Linked DNA regions of Homo sapiens: regions 1, 2, 4, 5, 6 and 7 are each linked to region 3. The links are contacts of gene promoters, found by promoter capture Hi-C in blood cells and fetal thymus (Javierre and others, 2016). All regions are on one chromosome and are shown on one strand. The core of a region is centred on a gene start or on the middle of the fragment in contact, and the rest is flanking DNA. Distances in the headings are between cores, read along the strand shown. Region 1 overlaps MAP3K7 (mitogen-activated protein kinase kinase kinase 7). Region 2 overlaps BACH2 (BACH transcriptional regulator 2). Region 3 holds the start of BACH2 (BACH transcriptional regulator 2). Region 4 overlaps BACH2 (BACH transcriptional regulator 2). Region 5 has its middle 140 kb from the start of MAP3K7. Region 6 has its middle 83 kb from the start of MAP3K7. Region 7 overlaps BACH2 (BACH transcriptional regulator 2).

Region 1 (3,791 bases), core at 1,217-3,716, 240 kb before region 3:
GGGTATCTTGCCAAAGAATCATGTAAAATAGTTGGTCAATTCTGATTTTTGTGTATTATCAGGAGAATCTCATAAATTACATGTTTTTATACCTAACTTACACATGGTACTTTAGTGTCTAAAATTGGTAAACTGCTTTATTTCTTATGGTGATCATTTCATAGAGGAATATGTTACCATTTTTAATAGAAACTTAAATGGCATATTGACCTTCAGTATTGATTAATGTATTATCAAAATTATCATTTATTTATCCCTTTAGGCTTTTCTCTACCTCTTTACCCAAAATCTTGATAAGGAAATACATATTTTCCACACACGTTCATGAGTGCGAGTTGGATGAATTCTTCAGCATGCTGTCCTTTGCCTGTGATTGTGTTTTTAGCAGTGTTGATAATTCTAGTTGAATACCTAATGGTTATTTTCTCCTCTACTAAACTGAAAACTATGTAAGGATAGAATCCATATCTTTGTGCATTATTTTGTTGTTGTTGCTTATTATTGATTGTATCAGCAGTTGCTGGCTCAGTGCTTCACATATTAAGCATATTAACATAGTGTTTAATAAATACATTTATTAAATAAATGAACAGACCTATTGAGCATCTCCCCTGGTGAGAAACTAGCATACAAAAATATGAATTATACTATTCTTAGGTGCCATTTTGTCTGTATAAAACTATCTTATATTAATTTTCCCCTGGTTATCAAAGTGGTTTCTTATTTTACAACATCATTACTATTGCTATTCAAAGAGTAGAGTTAACCCATTTTTCACATGGTAATTTTTATTTATTGAATCTGGACTGCTTCAGAAATTAACAAAGAGATCATTTTACATGGAGATCAGTTTACCTCCATGCGGAAAGGTACTGTGTATAAGGGACGTACTTTAAAGAGGTGGAAGCATTTAAACTTACATACCGCTGAACTGTGCTTCCCTTAAATGTTTGAGGGAATCAGGAAAATTTAGACAGATGGCAGTGTAATCTTATGACTAAGCATTAAGAATAAATTTATATATGGCAGCGTAGCCCACGCTATACAAGATAATGGGGGAGGGAAAAATAAGGAAAGAATAATAGTTTATAACTGTCAGGTACTACTGGCATCTAGTGGGCAGAGACCAGGGATGCTGCTAAACATCCTGATGTGTACCAGGCAGTCTTCTCCAACAAAGAATGATCCAGCCCAAAATGGCAGCAGTGCTGAGGCTGAAAACCCCTGATTAGATGTTCTTTGTGCCCTACAAAGTAGCTTAAAGTACATCTTATTTTACCTTTATACAATCTTACAACTAGGTTATCGGATGAAATTATAGCTGTTTAACAGACGAAGAACTTAGATCTGATGATGTTTAGTGGTTTTTCCAGAATCATATAGCCAGGACCCCAACCCAGATCTTCTGACTCCAAGTCACATCCATTTTTTGTTCTTTTGTTTAAGTCAGAGAAGCTAGAGTAATTTCTTCTTGCTTTCTCTTAGTGTTCACATTAAGGAGAGCTCTTCAGCCAGGGAGATCCTCTTTTATGACATTGGGCCTTTATGGAATCAGGTAACCTTAATTCTCTTAATTGCCAGAGCAGCAGTGCTATTCATATGAAAATATTATTCAGTAATACCTTTTATTAAATATTCTTTTTAGGCTTTTCCCCCCTCAGATATCAAACATTAACTTACTCAGGTGCACTTTCTTTAATAGAAGAATACAAGCTGTAGAATTGACACTAGTGGACATAAAAGCCAATCATGAATGTGCTCATAGGTAATGTTTTTAAATTAAATATAAAAATACCGCCCATCCTTTGGGAATATCTCAAATTTCCTACATGACATTTTAATTGTAAAGAAGGGTGATACTTAATTTCCAAAATTTCTTAATACTTTCTAGAAATTGTTTTGTTCTAAGTGGATTTCCCACAAGCTTTATGGTATTAGCAAATACTTCTTGATATATTCAAACTGTTTAATTAGCATTAAAACCCAATTGCAAGGATTCTTTTTAAATATAGCTTTTTAAAGATCTTATTTACATGGATAAGAGTTTCGTTAATACTTCCCTTTGGCCAAGTGCAATGTACTGAGTCTAATGTACTTCTTGGAATGAACTACCTCTCTTAATAAGAGCAATCCTTCAAGCATCACAAAAAAGGTTTTGTATATATATCTTTAAAGTCACTAAAATGTCTAACCTAGTCATAGGTAAAGAAATGCAAAGACCCTAATCTTGTAATCTTGTTTTTTGCTCGCTCTTCAAAATGTGTATACTATGCCATCAGTCAAATGTGGAAGAAAAAGCAACTTAGCAAAACAGCACTATTTATCAATTTAGTAGTCTCTCAGATCATACAGAAATTAACCTTTAATACCTTAGGACTCCCTGTGGGTCAGACTGTACAATTTTTTATACCTCTTCTACCATATTACTGGCTCTGAAGAACTGACAAACTTTTGTACGGTAACCCTTCCTTCTTTCCACTGTCCATCTGCCCTTAAAAGAGTGAGCTTTATAGATTAGCCTGGCTCCTTTTTACCAAGGAAGACACGCAGCTAAGAGCAAATTACCAGTAGAGTGTGTGACATTTTGCTGACTCTTCCTTTGTAGAGAAGGTCCTGCCAAGTAGCAGTGTGCTACCTAAGCAAAGTAAATGTAAATGTGGAAGTTTCTTGCCCAGTATTTAGACCATATGAACTACAGTTTTCTAATGCATTTGCTTGCTGGTAAGTTGGAAGGGACTTCGAGAAAAGAAATAGATTTTCTTAAATGTTTTTTATTAAAACTTGAGTTTTAAAAACCATATCCTTTCTCCTTTCAGCCAGTACATCTAATTTGTTACATTTATATTTGAAGAAAAGGGAATAGGTAGCAGATTATTGGATTCTTTGAAGTTTTTCTAGATTTTTTTTGTTCTAGGACTTTAATAAGGGCAGTAAGAACACAGATCATTGTTTTGCATGGATTTTCTTTACTTTTTCCCATATTTTCTTTTTGTCACTATCTAAGCTTCCAAGAATCTATTTTTCACCCACCTTCATCTCAAGTACACAAATGAAATAGATTATTGGGATTGTGAAACTATGTAAGACATTCTAATGCAGTTCATCTGATGTTAGAAGAATACCTAAATTTTACATTTCTTTTAAAAATCCAAATGTCAAAGAGGAACAGGTAGAATGCCTAAATATTACAAAAAAAGAGGAACAACCTTTTTCAGTTTAACATGTAGAGTAAGAGAATAAGTAGTTAAGAAAGCGAATTATTTTTCATGCTTGTAGCATCAGTAATGGAAGATGGGTTGTTCTGCTCTGGAGCCTTTGTGTGAGTAGTTATAGCATTTAAGGAAATAAACTGTAATTATAATGCATTCTAAAATCTACTGGAAAAAAATACTGTCATATACATATATACTTACCACCTATAAAAGATTTAATTAAACATTAGTCTTCTGCACTTCTACTCTGATATAAAATTTGTTGTACATGGTTCATACCGGCTTGATTGCTTTTATAAAGTGAAATGAGTTTCCCAAATGTGATATGCAAAAGTAAAATTTTCTAAATTACAGACATTTTTAATGCTATTATATCATCATAGATAAATTTATTTCTTAGTTCAGATTAGATTATAATGCTTGATTTCAAGTACTTGAAAACCATCCATTCTATAGATGAACATTGCCTTGAAGTGCTTCAATTTGAGAACCTTGAACAGTGTTGCTTTAGTGTACCTTTTGTTATTTCTAAGCCTAAAATAATATGGCATAACATTCGAGAGCAATAAAATGCCTTGA
Region 2 (4,030 bases), core at 350-2,849, 140 kb after region 3:
GTAGTTAATTCTCCAAAGGTCTCATCTCCCCAGCTACCATCCCTTCTTCTCTCTGGATGCTGCACAGTTCTTCTTTGTGTGAGGATGAGATTTTCAGGGCCGCCTGGGTCATGTATTCCATGTCTTTTTTGGGTTTTGGTGCATGTATTTTAGACCCTACTTTTCTCCATTTTTATGCAAGAGTTACTCCGTGTTGTTTCATAGCATTTTTGTTGTTGTTGTTCCTGCAGGGCTTTGAATGGTCCCTGTGAAATCTGCTGCCTTTCTTTTTCATAGTCCTCCACCTCAGCTCAATATAACACAACTTAGCCTAAGAAATGCAAGGCCCTAAGTAAAGACCACCTGAAATGCCTACTTGTTTGGTAGTAGAAACTTTGGTGTTCTCTCATTATTTTCTTTATTTCCCAGCATATTGGCAATGAAAACTAGACAATCACCCATTTTTGTACAATGCTCCCCTGAAGTAAACCATGAGAGTGGGGCAGCTAAGTAACCCATCTTTGAGAATGTTATTTTTGGCCATGCCATGTAGAAAAAGGACTGAATTTGTAACCCAAAAACTTGCATTCTTAAACCAAAATAGGAACAGTCCCACTTTGGCCAACCACCCTGGGCAAGTAGCACACTCTCCAAGATTCAGAATATAATTCTTACTGCCTACAGGGGTTGTTATGAAAGTAGAGTAAGATGCAGTGGAAGTGTTGCTTATGCCTGGGAAGTGCTATACAAAAGTATTAAAATTGTAAGGCTATAAAGAAAAACTCTTGTGAAGCGTTTTTTTTACACCACTCGATACCTACCTCAGTTTCCCTCCCCACCTTCAGATATGCAAGGCTGGTCAGGAGGTTGGGCCCCATGCACATTGGGATTAGGTCCCCTGGAACTTTTCAGGTGAGTCACTGCTTCATCAGATAGCGGAACTCCCTCACTAACCTTGGAATTCCAATCTTTTTTAAAACTTTGGTGATTTCCATTGGGGAAAAAAAATCTCTTGTAGTTAGTGATGAGGCCACCTCAATTGTCATCTGAGAATAGGACTTTATGCAATATTGACAACCCATCCATGACTTTTTTTAGTCGGCCAGCATTTTTGCACACCTGCTTGTGCCAGGCATTGTTCTCAATGCATGGGATGTGTCTGTGAACAAAACAGACACAAATTGCTGCCCTCTTAGAGCTTCTATTCTATTGGAGGAAAACAGAAAATAAGCAATAAACAAGCAAATTATAGTAAGTTAGAAGGTGGTAATTGCTAGGAAAAAAATTTAAAAACAGAGCAGGAAAGAGGAGGGCCAATTTGGGGATAGGAAGAGGCTGCAGTTTTAAATTAGGTGCTTGTTGTAGGCCTCCTATATTTCTAGTCTTTTGTTATTGTTGTTGTTTTTACAGAATGTTGTGATGATTTACTATTGCAAATGAATCATCTCTGTATAAATTAAATATTGCATGAAATGAAAGGAGTTCAGCTAAAGGCGAAACCTGATTGCTAAATGCTTGCAAAAGGATGGGAAGTTGCTCTAGCCCTTGCATGGCATTCTCAGGTTATCTATTCTTAGTTTAGTTTCCTTTTCCAAAAATGATGTTTATTATATAGTCTTCGAATGGAACATATCGCTGACACCTACTGCCATGTGTTTATAGTTAAACATAACTAGCCTCCCTTCTTACAAGACCAAGAGGTTCATCCAGAATGTTTCCCTTTAGAAGTCCTAAGAAGGCTCTCCTGGTTGGCTTTCCAGCCCATAACAGTGATAGATTTTGCAGCCTTCTTAGTCTAGCCATGTGGAGAAACCTGATGTTTTGGGTAATTCACCCCTTTAAACATGTGCTTTGTGTTTTGGTGGTGGTTGTTTGGGGCTGCGGTGTCTTAGGCATGGAGCTTATTATATCCATATAAATTACAGATCGCAGACACTCCGCCTCAAATAGCATTGGATTTATGATCCCTAGCTCTCCCTTTGCAGTGCCCCTTCTCCTCATGTCTGCTGTGCAACCTGACTTATGGTTGAGCCTGCTTCAAGTTCTTCCTGCCAGTTTGTCCCCTTTTCCGCAGTCTGCCTTGGTAGCTGACTGGGAGGGGCCAGCATGTGGGTTATCCCATTGTCTGTGGCTGTACACAAGAGGCTCTCAGTGGGTCTCTTTCTACGGACAGGACCCTGCCAAAGTAACACTTGTGCTTCCTGTCCAGTACTGACTAACGCAGTGCTATTCAAAAGGCAGGCTAGAACTAGGGCCATCAGAATGAACACGTTTTGAGCATTGGCAGATATACTTCCTCCCTTCCTGGCCTGTTGTTCCCCATCACTCACCAGATTCAGAAGGTGCAGTGCTCCTTGGGAGCAAGGCTGGGGCGCTTAGAGAGAGGGTCCCTTAAAGAGGAAGGGGGCTACCCTGGCTCATTATGAACTTTTTGGGTTCTGAACCTACCACTCATTATTCTGAATTGTGCAGCACATGTCTGTCACCTCCTAGTATAGAGTGGCCTTGAGAAAGTCACCTACTCCTTCTAGGTCTCAGTTTCTCATCTATAAAAGGAGTAGATTACTCTTCAAATGACCTTCAAAATTGCTTCCACTTCTAATTTTGTTTTAAGACACTATTGACTACACTTCTCCTAAAAATTGATCTTTTTGACGTGATTGGGCTCTTGAGACTTTTTTACCCTTTGTCCTGATCTGATTCTCTCCATGAATCAATTTTGTTCATCTCATCTGTCACTCTTCCTCTGTATGCTTTGTAACCTGCATTTCCTCTACTTCTGGCACTTTTTTGCCAATGGAACCTGCAATTCTACTCTGCAAATAGCTAGGGTTGTTTCCTCCCTCACTCCCAGCCAAAATACAGCTTTTATAGTAGTATCTCTGAGTAGGGAGTTGGGCTATTGAGAAAAACATGCTATAGCCCAAAGTCCCTATTTTAAAAGAGATAGAGATTGGAATGATATGTTCTTTTTAGGGTGTGGATGTTTTAGGCTCCAATGACCATAATCAAAATAGATCTATAACCAAGCCGTAAAAGGGTAATATATGTGAATTTTCTCATAATATGAATCCTAACACAAAAGCAGTTACAATACTTTAAGCGTAAATTACATAGTCTGCACCATGATTTTTTCAAAATTTGTCTTACGAACCTCAAGGAGGAAAATGTACCCCACTGGTTAGGAAAGAATTATTTTCTCTAGGTTCCATAACATAGAAGGAGTGTTTTATTTCCTCACTGCCTTGTGCCTGGGAATACTGAAATGATAGATTCAGCCATGTTTTAATAAAATTCCTCTGTAAGAATATTAGCATGGAGAGAGATTGGTATAAATACATGAATGTGCCTGGATTTTGAAGGTAAATCCTATAGCTATCAGATTGCTATTCACTTAATTGCCACAATCTAAAATTTATCTGTTAGTGTTTCTTTTCTAATTGTTACTAGTGTGATAAAAAGAAAAACTCTTATTTATATATAGATTATTTGTTTCAGGACATTAACTGAGAATATAGTATTGAAATGACTTGAAATTGAAGGAATCAGATTTTCTACTGCTTATTTATTCAGAATATAACTTACCCAACAAGGTCTGATTTAATTTATTTTGAGGAGTAGTATTTAGAAGCAGGATTACTCTTATTTAGGAAAAGAATCTGGATCTTAGATATACAGTGACTTGCCCAGAGTCACCTAGTAAATGAAAGAACTATAAGTCACCACTTGGGCGTGTGATTCATGATCTTGACTATGAATTGATACCAGTACTTTACATGAAATGGCCATACTCTGAAAATTATATTTTTAGATATAACCTTAATAAATATACTTGCCTTTCACAGAATATTAGAACCAATTCCTCCTTATCTTCATGGAGGAGCATACTTAATGATATATGTACTGATGAGATTTCGTCTTATTTTTAAAAACTTCCAAGAAAGAATGTTTCATAGCTCCCTTCATTCATCTACTCTGGTGCTTAATTAGATTTGATACGAGAACGCTTTCTTTCTTATCTAACTTGAATCCCTCATGCTGTAGCTTAAGT
Region 3 (4,211 bases), core at 1,630-4,129:
AGAAACCCCTACAGCATCCCACTCCATTCACTTTTGTCAGATTTCATTGGATGTTAAATTTGCCCTGCCATGCCTTATTCAAGGTACCACATTTGAAATTCTGTCTACTGTTCTGCCTAAGAAAAAATACAATATTTTCTCAACATCATCAAATCCTGTACAGGGTGCTGGAGAGCAAGAAAATCAAAGGCTCAAGAACTGCCCATGTCTTTAGTCCGTCTTCCTTTCCTCATCTGTTTCCTGTATATTTTAATTTTTCCTGTTTTATTTTCTACAATCAAGAAGATTTCTATTATAGAAATAAAGTTTATTTGTTTCAATGCCATGATACAGATTTATTGTCCCTGGAAATATCATGCTTAGAAATGAATCACAGACAAAGCCCATGCTCTGGATCAACACACATGTGTAATTATGTAGGAAAAAAATGTATATCAGGAAAGGTTGAATGCTCCAGGCATGAGAAATAAATTGACCTCCACTCAACTTACTGCCATGATTATACAGAGGGAAGGACCTGGATCTGTTTCACATCATAAACGCCTAAATTGCCAGAGCAGCACAAGCCCAGGAGTGGCCATGCAAACTCATGATGGAGGTGCTAAGGCTGTCCACAGCCCAACCTCTGCAGCAGTACTGTTAAATGAGTGTCTAGTACTTGACTTACCATTTTAATTTCACATAATTCTGAATGTATTTTTCGGCTTGAATTCAAATAACCCACTTCTAACTACCGAAAATAAAGTAGAAAAATGAACTCACTACCAGACTTCAAAGCTTATCCAAAGCAAAGATTTCGTCTTACAGCCAGAGGTGCATGATTGCAGAGCTGGATGTAACCTGAGAGGCTAACTACTCCTAATTCAGCCTCCTTGAATGACTGGATGATGCAACCTATCACAGGTGTTTTAGGTTTTTTCATCTCTATTTAATGTCCCACCTCATGCTTGAAAATCTCAAAGTGAAAAAGCTCCAGTCTGAGTCTTTGGGCAAGCAGACTAACTGAAATGACCTGTTAGCCTTTGTTGTATCCATCTGACAAGATCAGCTTGTAGAATCCAGAATGGAGGTGGGAGATCAGCTGGCAGCCTCATTTCCCTCCTCAACCACCCCTACGCTGATGTGCCCAACTCCACTCACAGCTGGGCAGCCACCGCTTGCTTGAAAATAAATGAATCTACACCACTCTCATACGGATGCTCTCAAGCATCCCTTGTTGTGAGAAAAACATTTATTGCTGCTACTAAAATGCGTAAAGTTATCTCACAAACACATACTTACAAGAATGAGGAATGAGAAACAGAACCATCCATAAAACTATAAGAAACGGCCTGGCCAGGGCAGACCAGGAATTAGTACTCTGTCCTTGCCAGGGGTCAGGCAGGGACCTCAGAAGCAGGGTGTTTTGTCCTAGGGGGCACCAGACCAGAGGTCAGGAGACTGAGGGCTACTCCTAGCTCTAGGACTTTTCCTTATCTGAAGGCCGGGTCGGTTAGCAGAGAAAATCTCACAGTCCCGTGCCAGACCTCCACGCAGGGACTCTGCAGTGCTGTTAGAAAAATTAGCTCAGCACCTTCAGCTTGCTTTCAGCCATCACTTAGCTTTCCACACAGACATTCCAAATGGGGCCTTTCAAAACTCTGCCCTCAAATGAAGGTAGTTCAGAGCAACACTTTAGATGATATCACAAGACTCCCAGGACGCTTCACTGCTTCCTCAGCATACGCCAGTGCCCGTTTTACAGGGGGGATTTATGATCCTTCTCTCAGTAGAGCGAGCCAAACTTTTATAATATTCATTAAAAATCAGCACCACGTGTAATAATATGGAATACTGCCTGTACACAAGAGGGCCAAGTTATAGGTGTTTAGGGAAACGTGGCAGAATTTTCTGGCCTTGGCAAGAGGTAAAGTTGCAGGCACCAGCACAACACTAACACAACCTTATTTTATTGCAAATGTACATTCAGCCTAAATCCTAATTACCTTCTGTAAAATCCTAACCACCACCAAGCTTTCTTCTGACAGGGCACTCACACGACGGCCTTTAAGGGCAGCAACAACATCCTAAGAGCCGCAGAAAGGAAAGGCAGGGGAGAGTGGCTGGAAGGCAGTAGGAGCTGGGGCTGAAGCCCGGGAGGTTGGCTTTTAATGTCCTCCTGAAATTGACCACTCTCTTTCCAAAAACACTGGCTTGGGGGCTTAAAGGTTCGCTCAGTAGGGCAGGCGGAGGGCCTCCTGAAAAGGATTGAGAAGTCAACATTCAAAAGGCTGCTTTTACTCGCCCGGTCCCCACCCAAAAGGGAGTCCGGTCAGCTTTGTGGGGGCCAGTGGAGCATCTTTTCTTGCCCTTCCGGGAAAACGCTAGCTAACCCTGGGATCCCCGGTCCCGACGTCTGCTCTCCTTCCCCAGGTGCAGCACCTAGGGCTCTGGCCCCCTCCCCACGTGCCACACCAGCCCTCACCACTACTCTCACCCTGCTATGCCCCCAACCCTCGTCTTTCGTGGCCGGGAAGGCCAGGCCGAGCGGGGCGGTCAGCCGGGCCGGGAGGAGGGGGCTCTCCGGGCCGCGCGGCCGCACAAAGCGGGGAGATCTGCTGCTGCGGCGGCATGAGGCGCGCCCCCTCCCGCGAGCCAGCGGAGCGCGCGCGCCCGCCCCCGTCCCCCGCCCCCCGCCCCAGCCCCCGGAGCGCCATTCGCGGAGCGGCTTACGCTAGTCGCCGGGCGTACCGCGCCCCAGCGGCCGGGGAGGTGCGCTGCCCGGCTCCCGTAAAGTTATTGTGAATGGGGAGCGGGTGACGTCAGCGCCGAATGTCAACAATGTAGCGATTGAGAGTGTGGGCGTTCCGGGGAGAGCGCAAGCCGCGCGGCGCGGAGCAAACAGCGCCGAGCCGCCGCCGCCTCAGCAGCAGCAGCAGCAGCAGCAGCGGCAGCAGCGGCCGTGCACGCCCGGGCTGCGGTCGCACAGCGCTAACGTGAGCGGCCGCCGCCCTCGCCACCCCGCCTGCCCACTCCCGCCGCCGCCCCGCTCTCGCTTTCCCCCCGGCCTCCCCTCGCCCCTTCCCCTCCCCCTTCCCGGCGCACTCGGGGGGCTGGGAACGAGCTGCCATGTGATGCGCGTCCCCTCCGCGAGCTTTCGGTGACCCACGAACTGCCCACCTCGCCGGCTGCCGGGAGGGGGCTGCGAGCCGGGAAGACGCGGGGAAGAGGAGGCGGAAAAGGACGCAAAGTTCTCCGGCGAGGTGAGTCCCGGGCCCCGGGCCCCGGGCCCCGCCGCTGGGCGGGGTGGCGGGGCAAGTTTGCGGGGGGAGCGGGCGCGCGGGGCGGGCGGGGAGGCGTGGGGAAACGGCGCGGGAAGGGAGCCCCGGCCGCCGGGCGCGCAGCCGCCCTCCCCGCGCCCTGCCCGCTTTTATGGCATTTTCTAGGAACGGGAAGGGGGTGGGAGCCGAGCCGGCGGCCGCGCCGCGCCGAATGTGTGCTCTCCCTCCCGGCTGTTTACGGCGGCCGAGGCGCATTGTATTTTGCTGGCGTCGAAGGGTGTTTTGGAACAGCAGAGGGAGGAGGAGCAGAGAGTAATAAGTCAGGCATGGGGAGGGCGGGCTGCAGGAGGCGCGCGTCCGCGCGAGCCGCAGCAGCTGTCAGACCCGCGGCCCTGCCCCCGGCCCGGCGAGGCCCGGGTGTCCCGGCCCCCAGCCTGCGATCCCAGCTCCAGGCCGGGCGGCCTCCTCCTTAACCCTCGGCGTGCGCATCCCGGGCTGCTCCGCGAGGACCTTGGCCGCGGCGCCTTTGCGCTCAGCTGTCAGCCGCCGCCGGGTGGCCCGGACCACCGCGACCGGCGGGGAATCAAAGCCCAAGTTTAGGGTCGCAGGAAGAGGCGAGCTGGGGGCCTCGCGGCGCAGACCTGGATCGAATCTCTCCTAGCGAAAGATCGGGTTGTCGGAAAGCGTCCCGCGTAGCTAAGACCTAAGGGCGCCAGGCTTCTGAGAGGGAAACCTTGCACCTCCTCTCCCACAGATCCTCCATGAAGTCAAGGTGCAACACACACACACACACACACACACACACACCCTACACTCCAGTCTCCAAGCCCCAGAAGCTTCACCCAGGAGACTGGTTTATGAAGGGGACACTGCCCTCCCCGTCCCCGCGTCGAGGCGCTCCGTGGCCCCGCTGTGCTTCGCTCACCCGGCGGGTGTTCGGGAGCCCGGCGC
Region 4 (4,050 bases), core at 837-3,336, 220 kb after region 3:
GAATACATAAGATTCTGAAAAATGTCTCCATAAGGCTTCCAAATGGCAGGTTTTCTGAAACAGGGTCACAAGTAGATTGCAGTTACGATAATAATATCTTGGATTTGACTTTTTTTCTTTCCAAAATAATACTCTGTTGGGGTCAGGGTATCGTAATTTATTTTGTAGCCATAGTTAACAGTCTTATTTTATTCATCCAATCATAAAATAGTAAAGCCAACACACTTGGAAAGCCAGGTTTGAGTGTGGACAGGAGAAGCCTTGGTTAAAAAGAAGATACATCTATTTTATGCCGGGTACCTCCACCTTAAAAACGCTTTTAGTTTATGATTCTAAAATAATATCTAAGTGTAAAAGGCATCATGTAAAATGTTTTTGTGCCATATATCATCCTCAGCATAGAAAGGCTGTGCTTACAGACTTTGCTTTATTCACTGAAGTCCTACAAAAGTCAGGGACTCTGAGTTGTGTGAGAAATGAGGGTCTCTCCCTACATAAACTCACTAAAATCTTTCCTTTTTGTATTCTGTTTACTTTAATGGTAGTATGTGCCTTATATCTTATATGTTCTTTTCGTCCATGACATGCACTGGGAAATAACATTTTGTTGTTTGCCACAACATTACACCTGTGACTTCTTTCTTTCTCCTGTCCTCTTGATGCAGCATGCTGTCAAACTGTATCTTTTGAGTTGTTCTAAATTGAATCCTGGTCAAAGGGATTTAACAACATCTAAAACGGAACTAGCTTAGATTCTCTTCCATTCTGTAGAGGTTCCTTTGTTCCTGCTTACCTACCCATGTCTGTCTGTATTCTATTCTTTTTCTTAGATTAAAATTGGAAAGGGAGAAAGGGGGAGCTCCTTAGGAGAAATAGGTCTGTGGAGAATTGTGAGTACTCATTCAGAAGCTATTCTTAGTTCTAAGGAATATAATGAACTTGAGCTTTGAGTCCTACTGAATCTCCCATTAATGATCCCGCCATCGCTTCCACCTCCCATCTGATTATGTTCTCCCCAAAGGCTACTGATATTTTTCCCCTAATATTCTGAATGGAGTCTCTTCCAAGGAAAGCATATCTCGAAAGGAATTGAGCCCTACTGCAGTAATAGTGTACTGGATGATTCTTAATTATTCTATTAAGTACTTCTGTTTTTGCATTACCATAATGTCTGCTGTAGCGGAAACTTTTCTGTAGACCTTGACTTGTCAGAAGTCAACCCCTTAATGTGAGCACTTCACTTACATTATCATTATGGTGTTTCCAACTGACAACTGCTGCCACACTGCCATCGTCCCTGAGTTCCCAGCGCTTCAGTAAAAGAGACTTTTGTTCTGGCTTGTTGAGGGGAAAAATGCAAACAACAACACTAGCTCTACCACCAGAGATCCTATAAAGACATGTTCAAATGAACAATAAAGTCATTTGTTCACATATGACATAAGGCTATAAGAATTTAAACAATAAGACCTCTTGTGAAATGTGGCAAAATATGCACCACAAACATTGTGAAGTTCTCTGTCTTGTGGAAGGCAGTTTTTACATGGGCTTCAAAAAACCATTAACTTATAAACTACCCTTTTAAAAAAGAAAAGAAAATCACTTGTCTCACTATAACATTAAAGCAATTTCTGTTCTAAGGAAAGCTTAAATGCATTCATTTATACAAAGTGCATGCACTATAATTTATAAAAAGCACAGTATTCTATCAGGAAATGCGGCACCTCTTCCCTCCTTCACCTGAAATGGGAAATTCCTCCGTTTTTGTCAAGTCCCTTTTTTCTTTGAGTAATATTGATTTCTTCAAAATGAAAGAAAAAAATCCTTTAAATCACTTAGATTCAAGACGAAGTTTTAAGGCTTGATAATAATTCTCTAAATACTTCTGACATGGGTGGAGCATGGAGAGGGAATAATCCTGCTCTGAAGGGAAATTTTAATTGAATTTGCTTTAATGTGAACCCTATCCTTTTTTGCTTTGAACCTTTAAGGAAAACTTGTTATATTTTCAGACCTCAGCAAGGCAGAAAAATGCAGAGATTTCCTTGTCCGCTCATGTCAGGGTGTCTGGCAGCACCTTAAAATTGTTCCGATTTTGATGTTTGAAATGTGACCTCCCAGGAAAAGTGGGAGGAGAGGAGAGCATGTGTTAACTGGCCAAAGGTGTTTCATTGAGCTGACTTAGTATTAACCTCTAAAGGTTTTCAAGTATTTGCAGATGGATATGTACAGCATCCTTGCAGAATTCTCTTAATTGAAGAAATGTTTCATCTCGATCTCTGTTGACAGAAAAGATTGCCTACTGATAATTGCTTTCCTTAAGTGTCTGATAATATGCCAGGAATGAGAGCATTCTGTGTTAGGTCATCTTTAATTATGCATGTACCACCTGTCAGCTCTAAATCAGTACCAGATTAGATTCTCGCAGAGTCAGTTTGGGGAGGTTCAGAGGGAAAGCTGAGGTGATCTCTTTTAGAAACAACAAAAATAGACAGTAGTAAACATGCCTTCTAACCTGAAGCTTTTTAAAGGAGCCTCATCTTCATTGTTCTCGAGCAAGAATACGCCATTGGTACATCTGAAAAACGTTTGAAACCTCGCCCAAGCGGGGATAACTTACTGCGAAGATGGATGACTGTGAGCGAGGATGGTAGTACCTCCTCCCTCAGTACCATCTGTTGCATTTCCTTTTTGCTCCTTCTCATCGTTGTAAATGAGCCAGGGAAAAGCTCAGAAACATTTTTATAAGCTATGTGAGGACAGGAAATATGTTAACGATGTTAGATTTCATACATTTCAGGGGTTTTTTCAGTAGCGGGTTGGTTTTTTTTAGAAGGACAAGTGTGGGTTGGAAATAATGCTTGTTACCCTCTGTCAGCTTTTGGTAGTTTTATTCTCACTTTTCAGGGTTGTTTGGGACTTTCTGGTGGGATGTTTAGGGTTCTTTACTGAAGGCTCTGTTCTCTCTTCTTCTATCCCTTGATAGAATGGATTTGTGAAAGGTGTTTTTCTTTGTTCACCTGTCAGAGGCCTAAGAAAAGCCTTGAGTCATTGTGCACTTTTCACAGAGGCGGGGTTGGATGACTGAGAAGCTAAAGGCAGAGAAGGGACAGGTAAAAAAATAACAGATGCGTGAATTATCATGTGGAGGGTTTCTCGAGCTTTGACCTGCAAAGGTGAGGCTCTGAGCCTGTCTGCTAACCAACCTGAGAAAACTGCCTTGATAAGAGTTTGTGACTAACAGCCTTAGAAATAGTTTGGAAATCCTAAAATATCTCATTTCAACACTGCTGGCTGGAGGCATTGAAGGGAAAAACAGATCAGCTCATAATGGGGCAAAGACCCTGGAGCACTGTGGTCCAGCCTGTGGCCCTGAGTGACCTTTGGCTGCCTTTTGATACTTAGGGTACCATTTGCTTTTCTAACCTAATCAAACAGTTCACTCAAGTAGAGGCACAACCTCCAAAACTACTTATTATAGTAACATTGCCAGTGCTTTGGCTATTTGATGCTCACTTAATACAGTAAACAAGTTGAAGAACTTTCAACTCCATGCAACAGATACTTCTTAAAACAGGAGAACATAGTACAATTAACCCTTAAACAACACAGGTTTGAAGTGCGTGGGTCCACATATACGTGGATTTTTTTCTCGATAGAAGTTACACTGAGTGTACCTGCCTCTTCTGCCTCCCTTCCACCTCCTCCACCCCTTCTGCCTCTGCCACCCCTGAGACAGCAAGACCAATCCCTCTTCTTCCTCCTCCTCAGTCTGCTCAATGTGAATACCGTGAGGATGAAGCCCTTTATGATGATCCACTCTCACTTAGGAAATGTATTTTCTCTTATGATTTTCTTAATAACATTTTGTTTTTTCCAGCTCACTTTATTGCAGGTATATAATACATATAACATACAAAATATGTGTTAATGGACTATTTATGTTATCAGTGAGGCTTTCAGCCAACAGCCGGCTATTAAGTTTTGGAAGAGTCAGAAGTGATATGTAGATTTTCGACTGCGTCGGGGATCGGCGCCCCAACCCCTGTG
Region 5 (4,202 bases), core at 1,123-3,622, 150 kb before region 3:
CAAGATTGCAACATTGCACTTCAGCCTGGGCTACAGAGTGAGACTCCATCTCAGATAAATAAATAAATAAATAAATAAATAAATAAATAAATAAATAAAGTGCTTTGAGAGCAGTGGTGTGAGACACACATGTTATTTTTAACTTTCTTTTAACCCAACTTCCTGACAAGTTTCACTAATTCATGGCCACAAATCTCAGATTGGCCTTCAGTGATGCCTCATAGTCCTATACACTCTCCACATCTCTTAACTCTTTCATTCTTCAAACTAACTATTTCACATCTCTCTTCACATTGTCCCCACTCCAATTCTAGCTGGCGACCTTGCCTCACACTTCATCAACAAAACTGAAACAACCAAAAAGACCTCCCTCATCATGTTGCATCCCCACCACCACCCTACGGACCTGATGACCTTTTCTTATTACTAAGGATCAAGTGTCCCACAGAAACCAACCAGCTTTCAGCTCCCATCATCCTTCCCAGGGACTTTGTTTCTCTCTTTCTTCTCTTCAGCATCACCCATTTTACTTTCTCTAACAGATAGTATGATCCTTTACCTCTCATATTAAATAATAGAAAGAAAAAAGATTAACTCTCTTGACCATGTATTCCTGCCCAGCTCCCACCATTTTACTTTGTTCTCCTTCACAGCAAACCTTCCTAAAGTCCTTGATTATTATCACTGCCTCCACTTCCTCACCTCGCATTCTCCCCTCAACCCACTTCTGCTGAGTTCCAGCCCCTTCGCTCTTTATGCTGCAGAGTCCAACCTGCAAGCCCTGTCCTCATCACACTTGAGCTCTCAGCAGAAGTCGGCAGCCTTTGCCACTCCCTCCTTTTAAAATCCTTTTTTCTCCTACCCAGCAACACACTCTCCTGGTTCTGCTTCCCCCTTGCTAATTGCCTCTTGTCCAGCACTTTTGCCAAATTTGCTTCATTTTCCTGACTTCTGATTCTTCAAGTAGCTCAGGATTTGTGCTCTGACCTCTTCTTCGTCTGCACTCATTAGTCTCACTCAGTGTCGTGGCTTTAAATATTATGTATATACCCATCACTCCCTCTCCCTCGCACCAGCTATTTGAACTCCTTGGCACTGCCACATGGATGTTAAGCAAGTATCTGAAACTTGTGCCCAATCAAAATTTTTGATTTTCCCTCCCAAAGTTCCTCCACCAGTCTTCTCTATCTCGATATATGGCACCATCATGGTACCACCAACTGGAGCCATTAAATGGTACCATTTGCTTATGACAAAAAATCTAGAAATTATCCTTGATAACTTTCTTTGCATCACCCTCACATCCAAACCATTGACAAAACTCTCAAGTTCACCTTAAAACATAGGCTGAATCTATCCATTTATCTCCATCCTCTGCCAACACACATTGGTAGAAGCCATTATTACCTCTCCTGTGGCATACTTCAACAACCTACTAACTGATTTCCTTGCTTCATTTTTACTTTCCTATGATCTCTTTTTAACATAATAAATGGAAGAAAGGAAAGCTCTTCCTTATAGTTGAATTCCAAATAATAAACATAGAAGTGATGTATTTAGAAATTCATCAATGGGTGCTAAAACTAGTAAAAGTTTGATGAGCAATAGGATATTTACATAGTCTCAAAGAAACTCCTCAGGAATGACTTATTAATTACAAAGGGAAAATTAGTCACTTTAAAGAGGACAGACTTGGGGAACATGGCCTTAAGCAAGTGATCAAAGCTAACATCACCAGTATTGGGACAAACAATACTCACAGGTCCACATGGCTGGGGAGGCCTCAGAAACTTACAATCATGGCAGAAGGCACCTCTTCACAGGGTGGCAGGGGAGAGAATGAGAGCCAGCAGGGGAAATGCAAGATGCTTATAAAACCATCGATCTCGTGAGAACTCACTCACTATCACGAGAACGGCATGGGGGAAATAACCCCCATGATTCAATTACCTCCACCTGGTCCCACCCTTCACATGTGGGAATTATTACAATTCAGGGTGAGATTTGGGTAGGGACACAGAGCCAAACCATTTCACTGTTCTTGCAAATTTCTTGTAAGTTTGAAATCATATCAAAATGAAAAGTTTCCAAAACACTATACTCATCTGGCCATGTGATTTTTCTGCTTTCTGCCCCTCAGTAGCTTCCTAACTTCTTTATAGTAAAACTCAATGCCTTGCCATGGCTTACATAGCCCTCTGTGATCTGGCCCCTGCCCGCTGCTCATGTCATGCTGTATCATTCTTTCTCAGCCTCCTAAACCAGGTGTCGACAAAAAGAGTCAAACTCTGTAAAATATTTGAAGAGATTTATTTTGAGTCAAATATGAGAGACCATGGCCCATGGCACAGCCCTCAAGAGATCCTGAGAACATGTACCCAAGGTGGTCAGGGCACAGCCTAGTTTTATACACTACAGGGAGACATGAGACATCAATCAAATACATGTAAGATATACATTGGTTTGGTCTGGAAAGGCCTGTAAGGAGAAGGAGGGCTTCCAGATTATAGGAAGATCTGAAAATTTTCTGATTGGCAATTGGTCAAAAGCGTTACTATCAATAGAAAGTAATGTCTGTGTTATGATAAGGGGTTGTGGAGATCAAAGTTTTATCATGCAGATGAAGACTCCAAGTAGCAGGCCTCAGAGAGCACAGGTTGTAAATGTTTCTAATTAGACTTAAGGTCTGTGTTGATGTTGAATGCTGGTCAGCTTTTTCTAAATTTCAAAAGTGGGGAGGGTATAATGAGGCATGTCCCACCCCCTCTTCTTGTCGTGGCCTGAACCAGTTTTTCAGGTTAATTTTGTAGTGTCCTGGCCAAGAGGAGGGGTCCATTCAGATGGCTGGGGGACCTTAGAATTTTATTTTTGGTTTACACAAGCCAGTGTCTTTCTGTCCCTGAAATATACCAACCTCTCTCACCTTAGTGCCTGAGAGCTGTTTCTCTGCCTGGAATGCTCTTCCCCTCAACTTTGTAGATTTGGTTCTTCCTTGACATTCAGACATCAGCTTCAAGGTCACCTCCTTAAAGAGGCCTTCCTTAGCCACACCCCCTCACTCTCTCTCATCCTACCTTAAAGTGGCTTCCATGTAGAGCACTTATCACTCTATGTTTTCTTTATTTACTGATTCGCTTATTATCTTCCCCACCGTGGACCATAAAACCACGATAACAAGCATTTTGTCATATTCATGGCTGCACCTTTCGTGCCTAGAATAGTGCTAGTCCCTACTACATGCTCAATAAATAAGTGCTGAATGCAGCTCGTGTTTTCTATGCATTTTGGTAATGCTAATAAATGACAATAAAATTCTAAGCCCCTCCCACTGATTGAATGGGTCTTCCTCTCAGCCAAGGGGACACAATGAAACCTGAGAATCTAGTTCAGGTCATGATGGAAAGGTGGGGGGCAGAGATGGGGCTGGAGTCTGTCTGACTGAACAGACTCTCTGTAGCCATAAGACACCAAATTTCAACCTCACTATTATACCATCACATGACAGATAGCAGGGCCCTGAAAGAAACTGAAGTTTTTTGACCCTAAAATATGCTTACTTGACACGTTTTGAAATGGCCCTGCAAAGCTGTTTCTTGTGGGGGGAAGTTAGCATTCTGTAGAGAATCTGCTTCCTTTACCAGGTCTCTCCAAACAGTCTGATACCTTTGGTAAGAGACATTCACATCTATTCTCTCTGAAGCCTGGAGGCTTGTCTACATGATAAAAACCTTGGCTTCCACAACCACCACCCCCCAACCCTTACCTCAAGCCGACTTCAACTTTTCAGGCAGAGTTTAACCCTTTCAACTAATCACCAATTTGAAAATCTTTGAATTCACCTATGACCTATAAGCAACCCCTCCCCTCTTCAAGTTGTTTGGCCTCTCCGGACCTAACTACTGTATATCTCACATACCTTGATTGATGTCTTATGTCTCCCTAAAACATATAAAACCAAGCTATAACCCAACTGCCTTCAGCACATGTTCTCAGGAGCTCCTGAGACTATGTCATGGGTTATGATCCTTAACTGGCAAAATAAACTTCTAAGTTGATGGAGATCTGTCTCAGATACTTTTTGGCTTACACTATGTATTATTTTCATATTGAAATAAGTCTTCTGGTAATAGAATCTCCCTCTCACCAGTCATGGATACCCTTTCCTATGTAACTCCAGAGTTTTCAGTTCTGGGCATCATTAT
Region 6 (3,934 bases), core at 1,332-3,831, 210 kb before region 3:
TATAAAATTGTATAGTTCATGAGACTCTGCTTAAATACTGTTAGAATTAATAAGAATTTGATAAAGTGACTATCTGATATATATCAAAATCAGTAGTTTTTCTTTATAATAATCGGAAGTAAAAAATGATATTTTTAAAAACTTAGTGGCAAGAGCAGTAAAATTATAAAATATGAAGAAAAACATTTATCAGGAAATAGAAAGGGCTGAAGAAAAGTAAAAAGGCTTCGAAAATAATGTAAAACAAGACCTGAATTTAACATTTTCCTAAATGATAAGACAATATTAAATATTTGGTGTAGATATACGTGCATATAGATTATGGATTTGTTTAAAGTAATTTCAATTGGAAATCCAATGGAGTTGAGATTGGGTTTATTTTGAACTGGACAAAATGATTTTAAAGTTCTTAAGAAATAAATGCTCAAAGGTTGAGGTATAATTTATATGCAAACTGTACATTTAAAGTGTACAATTTGATAGGTTTTGACAAAATGTATTCTCCTGTGAAATGACCACAATCAAGAATGTGAGAGTTTCCCCAATCCCAAAAGATTCCTTGTTCCGTTTGATAATCCATCTCTCCTCCACCCTCATCCCCAAGCAACTACTGGTCTGCTTTCTATAACTGTAATTATTTTGCATTTTATAGAATTTCATCTTACAAGATTTAGTCTCTTTTTGGCTGACTTTTTCACTCAGCATGATTTGATATTCACCCAAGTTATTAACATATATTAATAGTTTCTTCCTTTTTAAAAGCAGGATTCCATTGTATCGATGTAACAAATTTTGTTTATCTAGTCACCTATTGATGGATATGTTGAGTTATTTCCAGTTTGGCACTCCTACAAAAATAGAGTTGATATTAATGTTTGTGTACAAGTTGTTATGTAGACATGTGTGTTCATTTCTTTTGGGTAAATACTTAGAATAGCTGAGTTTTATGATAGGTATATGTTTAACTTTTCAAGAAACTTCCATACCTTTCCAAAGTACTATGTAATTTTATATTCCCAGCAGCAGTGTATGAGAGTTCCGTTTGCTCCATATCCTTGCCCACACATGGTATAGTCAGTCTTTTTCATTTTAACCATTCTAATAGGTGTGTGGTGGGACCTTATTGTGGTTTTAGTTTGCATTTCCCTGATGACTACTTTTAGCCCCTTGGCATGTGTTTATTGGGCTTTTCTTTCATATAATTTCTTTGGTGAAGTGTCTTAAAATATTTTGCCCATTTAAAAAAATTGTGTTGTTTCCTTTCTTCATATTGAGGTGTAAGACTTTGGTATATTCTTGTTACAGTTTGTTGTCTGATATCTGTGCTGTGAATATTTTCTTTTCTGTTTGCCTTTCTATTTTCTTACTGATATTTTTCAAAGAGAAAAAGGTTTAATTTTTATGAAGTCCAATTTATTAATTTTTTATTTTAAGCTTCCTGTGTTCTGTTTTAAAAAATCTTTGCCTACCCCTCACAAAGATTTTTCCTTCTGTTCCTTCTAGAAGTTACTTATTAGGTTGGTGCAACAGTAATTACTTTTAATGGCAAAAACCACAATTGCTGTTGCACCAACCTAATAGTTGAGCTTTTACATTTTGGTCTGTGATCCGTTTTGAGTATTTATTATATTTGGTTTAAGGTAAGAATCAATGTTCATTTTTTTTCCATACAGATATGCAGTTGTATTCCAGCACTATTGATTGACTTTCTTTTCCTCATTGAATTGTCTTATTTCTTTTGTTGAAATCAGTTGACCATGTGTATATGAGTCTGTTGGTGAATTCACTATTTTTCTCCATTGTTGTAGCTTTTTCGTGTTGTAGCTTTATAGCACCTCTTGAAATCAGTAATGTAAGTTCTCCAATTTTGTTCTTTTTAAAAAATTATTTAGCAATTTCTGCAAAAATTTTAATATCAGCTTGTTAATTTTTACCAAAAAAAAAATGTCTATTGGGATTTTGATTGGGATTGCCTTAAATGTATAGACCCAAGTTGGGGAAAATTGACATCTTAACAATGTTGAATTTTCCAATCTATGAACATAGGAATTTTCTCCATTTAGTTAGATCTTTTCTAATTTCCCTCAGCAATGTTTTGTAGTTTTTAGTGTAGAGATCTTGGACTTGTTTTGTTATAGTTTTTACTTAGAAAGTATTAATATATTATTAATTTTGTTACATTTATTATATATTATATATGATAGTAGATATATAATAGATAATGTAATATGTTATATAATATCTATTATTATATTATATATAATTATATTATTTTGTTGTATTTATTACTTAGAAAGTATTAAATATAACAAAACAAGCCTCGATTAAAAGTAAAAATATACCCTTGGACACAACATTCCTACTTTGAAAAATCTATAGCCTTAAGAATATCTGTATGTAAAGACATAGATACCAAGAAGTTATTTGAAACACTGTGTATAATGGCCCCCAAATTTTTTATTAAAAAAATAACCTCAACAAGAAAAATGTCTATCAGTAGGGGAAAGATTGAATCAATTATGGTAAATTAATGTTTTTTAAAGGAATGCATTCAATCTATATACAGAGATCTAGATGGATGTCTGTGACCTATTGCTACATGAAAATAGGACATTGAAGAGCAAATATACTATTTAGGTCAAAAAAAACTGTTAAGCAAGACAAAAAATTATAATATGACATGCATATGAATACAGAAAACAAGAGAGAAGGATACTCTTAACAGTGTTTATCCCAGGAAGGGTGGATGGTGATGGAGAGCTTATTACCATTTTTCTTATACATTTCTTAATCACTTGACATAAAAATACATGGTGTAGGCATTATAGCATATATAATACAAGTGACCCTGATATCAACCTGCTATATTTACCACAGTCTGTAAATAGTGTGGCAAAGAATCTAACATTTTGAGGAGAGATGTGAAGGAAGGAGAGAAGACACAAGAGCCCAGCATAATGAATCAGTCGGTAACCATTGAGAGGGAACAAATTGTGACTAGCAGTTTTCCAGATTATTCTACAGTAATAGCCACCGACATATACGTGAATCATAAATCTTTCTGCAGCCCAATAAGGTTTTCAATCTGAAGCACGCAAGGAAAGCTACAGGAAGTGGTATTGTCTCTTTTGAGGGAAAGAAATGGAGGCACATTCATTAATCTCTGAGAAACAAATCTCAATCTCTGCCTGCCTTGGAGACACTTAGTTTATGGAGTTGTCAACAGACTCATCAACAGAACACACACATGAAACCTGTGTAGACAAAAGCACCTTTATGCCTAACTGATCAGACACTGAAACTGGGAACCAAAGGAGCATGTCATCTTCATGCTCACATACCTTTAAGAGCAGAGTGAAATGGCCTTTAAACTTTGCTTAGTCATTCATTCAAACAGATAAGGGGAAAGTTTCCTGCTGTGCTCTTGTTCAGGCCTTGCCAATAGATGACACTTGCCAGCCACTTGGGGACATCACAGCAGACCAGAAAAATTACCCTAGAGAGTTACCTTAGTTTTAAACATGGCTTAGCATATTTGCACATTTGGGAGGCATCGGGTTAATCTACTTTTTCCCATATTAGCCATGCCAACTATTGCAGTTAAAACTGCATACTCCTAATTTAGGTGACTTTATGTTAAAATCAACAGAAATCACACACTCTTTGGGTTGGTCTATAAATCAAAAATATAGGAAATATGCATTTTTTTCTTGCCTAAACAAGCTTGTAGCTGAGCCAATTTTGCTGCCTGAAATGTTTAAGCATTGTTGCTATAATTGGTCCTTAGAGCTTCATTCCTTAGTGCTTCATTTAGGATTTCAACAACCTGCCATTCCCCGTAAATAACAACCTGTCATAATGACAAATGTGGAGGTGGTTGGTCCGAAATGCAAAGTATTCAAGCAGGCTGTTGTAGCAGACTGTTCCGTGGATA
Region 7 (4,248 bases), core at 890-3,389, 240 kb after region 3:
CTGATGGTTCCTCTGGAAGTTTTGTCTCAGAGGAGTACCCGGCTGTGTGAGGTGTCAGCCCGCCTCTACTGGGGGGTGCCTCCCAGTTAGGCTCCTCGGGGGTCAGGGACCCACTTAAGGAGGCAGTATGCCCGTTCTCAGATCTCAAGCTGTGTGCTGGGAGAACCACTACTCTCTTCAAAGCTGTCAGAGAGGGACATTTAAGTCTGCAGAGGTTACTGCTGTCTTTTTGTTTGTCTGTGCCCTGCCCCCAGAGGTGGAGCCTACAGAGGCAGGCAGGCCTCCTTGAGCTGTGGTGGGCTCCACCCAGTTCGAGCTTCCCTGCCGCTTTGTTTACCTAATCAAACAACTAACTTGGCAGTGGTGGGCGCCCCTCCCCCAGCCTCGCTGCCGCCTTGCAGTTTGATCTCAGACTGCTGTGCTAGCGGTGAGTGAGACTCCATGGGCGTAGGACCCTCTGAGCCACGTGCGGGATATAATCTCCTGGTGTGCCATTTTTTAAGCCCATTTGAAAAGCGCAGTATTAGGGTGGAAGTGACCTGATTTTCCAGGTGCCGTCTGTCACCGCTTTCTTTGACTACAAAAGGGAATTCCCTGACCCCTTGCACTTCCCGAGTGAGGCGATGCCTCCCCCTGCTTTGGCTCGTGCACGGTGCGCTGCACCCACTGTCCTGCACCTACTATCTGGCACTCCCCAGTGAGATGAACCCGGTACCTCAGTTGGAAATGCAGAAATCACCCATCTTCTGCATCGCTCACGCTGGGAGCTGTAGACCGGAGCTGTTCCTATTCGGCCATCTTGGCTCCTCCCCACCGGCATTCCAGAATTTTTCAATGAGAAATACTGATCCAGAGATATAGGAAGCAGTGTATCTAAACAGACAAATAAAAAGGCCTTCACAACTTTTTATACCGTAGTAAAACTGTGAATCACTGAAGACAGCTCTCTTAAAAGGAGCCATAGGGAAAACAGACCACATCCACAGAGGAACAATACTTAGACTGACAGCAGACTTCTCAACAGCAATGACTAAATCCAGGAGATGATGAAATATTTTCAAAGTTCTGAGAGAAAATGATTTTCGACTTAAAATTGTGTTTTCAGCAAAAATAACCTTCAAAATGAGAGTGAAGTATTTTCTTCAGACGTACAAAACCTAAGGGAGTTTACCACCAGCAGACTTACACTGAAGGAACTTGAAAGAATATACTTCAGGCTGGGTATGGTGACACACACCTGTAATCCCAGCATTTTGGGAGGTCAAGCCAGGAAGATTGCTTGAGGCCAGTTCAAGACCAGTCTGCACAATACAGTGAGACCCTAGCTCTACAAAAATAAATAAATAAATTAGCCAAATGGGTGGTGTATACCTGTAGTCCTAGCTACTCAGGAGGCTGAGGCGGGAGAATCACTAGAGCACAGGAGTTGAAGACTGCAGTGAGCCTTGATCACACCACTGTACTCCAGCTTGGATGACAAAGTACAACCCTGTCTCTAAATAAAAGAAAAAAAAAGCGTATACTTCAGAAAGAAGAAAAGAGATAGCAAAAGGTCTGAAAAATAGAAATTGTAAGCAAAGAAATTGGTAAACATGTAGGCAAATCTAAACAAATATTGCTGGTTTAAAATACTGTGTAAAACTCCCTATATATGAGGAAGGAGATAATCAGAGTTTGCATTATAAGTTCCTTTTGTTGTTCTGAAGGGGTTAAACTACTAACTTTGGATTTCAAGGGTAACTGCTAAAAGAAAAGAACTAGTGTATAACTTCTAAGCCTGATTTTTAAAAATCAAAAAAGAAAGAAAAAATACATAAAGCATAGGAAAGTAGGACAAATAGAAAATAATATTATAAAAACAAATGCAGATATATCAGCAATCACAATATATGTAAATTGCCTAAACTTTCTGGCTAAAAAATAGAGTAAACATTAAGATTTTTTAAAAAATATAATACCAATTCAGCTATACAGTGTTTAGAGAAATACACATTTAACAATTCGTATTCGAGCAAATACCAATCAAAAAGGAGCTATGTAGCTTTGTTGATATCAGTCAAAATAGACTTTAAGGGCTGGGTGTGGTGGCTCATGCCTGTAACCCCAGCACTTTGGGAGACTGAGGCAGGCAGATCACTTGAGGCCAGGAGTTCAAGACCAGCCTGGCCAACATGGCGAAACCCTGTCTCTACTAAAAATATGAAAAATTAGCCAGGCATGCTGGCCTGCACCTGTAATCCCAACTGCTCGGGAGGCTGAGGCATGAGAATCGCTTGAACCCAGGAGACGGAGGTTGCAGTGAGCCAAGATCATGCCACTGAACTCCAGCCTGGGTAACAGAGAAAGACCCTGTCTCAAAAATAAATAGATAGATAGATAGATAAAAGACTTTAAGGCAAAAAAAAATCAGGATAGAGAGAGCACTACCTATTGATAAGGTTTTAATTCACTGGAAAGGTATAACATTTCTATATTGCATCAAAACATGTAAAACAAAAACTAATAAAACTATAGAGAAATTTCATGTTTCTCCAAGATATTGCTTGGTCAAGCACATAACAAATAATTAGTAAAGAAATATAACATTGAAGCAGTACAACTGAATAGTTTGATTCATAGAATCTTGCATCAAACAAATAGAATATATGTGTTCTTCATATGGAAGAATTACAAAACTTGCCCTCATACTATGCCCCTAAAACAAGTCTCAACAGATTTCCAAGAATCAGTATAATGACCACATTATCTGATCATAATACAATTTAATTAGAATTCGGTAACTAAAACATAAACTCCCCAAAATTCCCCTTATATGTGGAAATTTTTTAACATTTTAAAATAATTCATTGATCAAAGATGTAATAATGGAAAATTTAAAATACTTAGAATTGAATGATAATGAAAATATGATATATCAACTTGTGGGATACAGTAAAAGTTGTACTTGGAGGAAAATTTATAGTCTCAAGTGTTTTTCTTATTTTTATTTTTTATTTTAAGTTCTGGGATACATGTGCTGAACGTGCAGGTTTGTTACTAGAAAAGGAAAAAGTGAAAATTAAGAAGCTAACTTTGAGAAGGTAAAAAAAAAGACGAATGAGAAAGGAAGGATGAATAAAGATGAGAACAGAATTAATTAAATTGAAATTGTAAATACTATGTAGGGTATCAACAGAGCCAAAAGTTGGTTCTGTGAATGGAGTTCATAATACAGGGTTTGGTAAACTTTTTTTGTAAAAAGGCATATAGTAAATATTTTTGACTTTGTGGGCCATAGTCTCTCTCACTACTACTCAACTCTGCCACTGTAGTGCAAAAGCAGCTATAGATAATACGTAAATGGGTGGATAGAGCTCTGTTCCTATAAATTGTTGTTTTAAAAACATGGTAGACTGTATCTAGTCTACAGGATCATAATTTGCCAGTCCTGTACTAACAGTAAGACTGATGTAAAAGAGTAAGTCCAGTGAGAAAGTTTAGCACAGTGACTGGATATAAGATCAATATACAATATATATCAATAAAAATTAATTGCCTTATATACCAGTAACACAGAAAAGTAATGTTTAAAAAGTTATTAATGATAATAACAAAAATTTAAGTACCTCAGAACAAATCTAACAGAACTTATGCAAGACCTAAATAAACTAAAATTGTATTGTTTAATATGCTCAGGTCAATTGTTCTCAAAATTTTGGTTTCAGAATCCCTTTATACTCTTAAAAATTACCAGCCTGTAAAAGCCTGTAATCCCAGCACTTTGGGAGGCTGAGGTGGATGGATCACCTGAGGTCAGGAGTTCAAGACCAGCCTGGCCAACATGGTGAAACCCCATCTCTACTAAAACTACAAAAATTAGCTGGGCATGGTAGTAGGCACCTGTAATCCCAACTACTTGGGAGGCTGAAGCAGGAGAGAATCGCTTGAACCCAGGAGATGGAGGTTGCAGTGAACCGAGATCGCGCCATTGCACTCCAGGCTGGGCGACAGAGCAAGATTCCATCTCAAAAAAAAAAAAATTACCGAGAACCCCAAAGAGCTTTCGTTTATTTGGGTTTTATCTATATTTACCTTATTAGAAATTAAAACTGAACATTTAAAGTATCTATTAGTTAATTTTAAAATCACAGTAATAAGCTCACTACATGTTAACATGAATAACATATCTTTATGAAAAAACTATATTTTTCAAGATAAAAGTGAAAAGAATTGCATTGTTTTGTATTTTCCCCAATACCTTTAATGTCC

Evidence for each region. Contacts are between HindIII fragments. The CHiCAGO score rates a contact against its expected background, and 5 or more counts as called.
Region 1: a fragment that was not itself captured here is called in contact with the fragment with the promoter of BACH2 in region 3 in 1 of 17 cell types (naive B cells); the score reaches 5.2 in naive B cells.
Region 2: a contact is called between a fragment that was not itself captured here and the fragment with the promoter of BACH2 in region 3, in 4 of 17 cell types (naive CD4 T cells, non-activated CD4 T cells, activated CD4 T cells and 1 more). The highest score is 8.5, in naive CD4 T cells.
Region 4: a contact is called between a fragment that was not itself captured here and the fragment with the promoter of BACH2 in region 3, in 7 of 17 cell types (naive CD4 T cells, non-activated CD4 T cells, naive CD8 T cells and 4 more). The highest score is 21.2, in naive CD4 T cells.
Region 5: a fragment that was not itself captured here is called in contact with the fragment with the promoter of BACH2 in region 3 in 9 of 17 cell types (activated CD4 T cells, naive B cells, total CD4 T cells and 6 more); the score reaches 16.4 in activated CD4 T cells.
Region 6: a fragment that was not itself captured here is called in contact with the fragment with the promoter of BACH2 in region 3 in 1 of 17 cell types (activated CD4 T cells); the score reaches 7.1 in activated CD4 T cells.
Region 7: a fragment that was not itself captured here is called in contact with the fragment with the promoter of BACH2 in region 3 in 2 of 17 cell types (activated CD4 T cells and naive CD4 T cells); the score reaches 6.8 in activated CD4 T cells.

What each region holds. Positions count from the first base shown.
Region 1 is chr6:90,540,224-90,544,014 of GRCh38, reverse strand. All of the region lies in intron 12 of MAP3K7 (mitogen-activated protein kinase kinase kinase 7), which reads left to right. Among named protein-coding and RNA genes, the nearest start is that of MAP3K7, 45 kb to the left of the region's middle. RefSeq lists a silencer at 2,479-2,679. The HindIII fragment of the contact is 1,080 bases long and covers 1,927-3,006 here.
Region 2 is chr6:90,152,945-90,156,974 of GRCh38, reverse strand. The region is part of intron 4 of BACH2 (BACH transcriptional regulator 2); the gene reads left to right. Among named protein-coding and RNA genes, the nearest start is that of BACH2, 140 kb to the left of the region's middle. RefSeq lists enhancers at 1-361, 395-539 and a cis regulatory region at 467. The HindIII fragment of the contact is 9,321 bases long and covers 1-4,030 here.
Region 3 is chr6:90,295,511-90,299,721 of GRCh38, reverse strand. It overlaps BACH2 (BACH transcriptional regulator 2), which reads left to right and starts at 2,879. Exons shown (of 9, transcript NM_021813.4): 1 at 2,879-3,242. LOC105377891 (a long non-coding RNA gene) reads right to left here and starts at 2,483. Exons shown (of 7, transcript XR_942778.4): 1 at 1,986-2,483. RefSeq lists an enhancer at 665-1,166 and silencers at 2,966-3,015, 3,641-3,700. The HindIII fragment of the contact is 2,083 bases long and covers 2,016-4,098 here.
Region 4 is chr6:90,071,668-90,075,717 of GRCh38, reverse strand. The region is part of intron 5 of BACH2 (BACH transcriptional regulator 2); the gene reads left to right. Among named protein-coding and RNA genes, the nearest start is that of GJA10, 180 kb to the right of the region's middle. The HindIII fragment of the contact is 875 bases long and covers 1,649-2,523 here.
Region 5 is chr6:90,449,950-90,454,151 of GRCh38, reverse strand. No RefSeq gene overlaps it. Among named protein-coding and RNA genes, the nearest start is that of MAP3K7, 140 kb to the left of the region's middle. The HindIII fragment of the contact is 8,218 bases long and covers 1-4,202 here.
Region 6 is chr6:90,502,456-90,506,389 of GRCh38, reverse strand. No RefSeq gene overlaps it. Among named protein-coding and RNA genes, the nearest start is that of MAP3K7, 83 kb to the left of the region's middle. The HindIII fragment of the contact is 2,289 bases long and covers 1,437-3,725 here.
Region 7 is chr6:90,050,546-90,054,793 of GRCh38, reverse strand. The region is part of intron 5 of BACH2 (BACH transcriptional regulator 2); the gene reads left to right. Among named protein-coding and RNA genes, the nearest start is that of GJA10, 160 kb to the right of the region's middle. The HindIII fragment of the contact is 5,124 bases long and covers 1-4,248 here.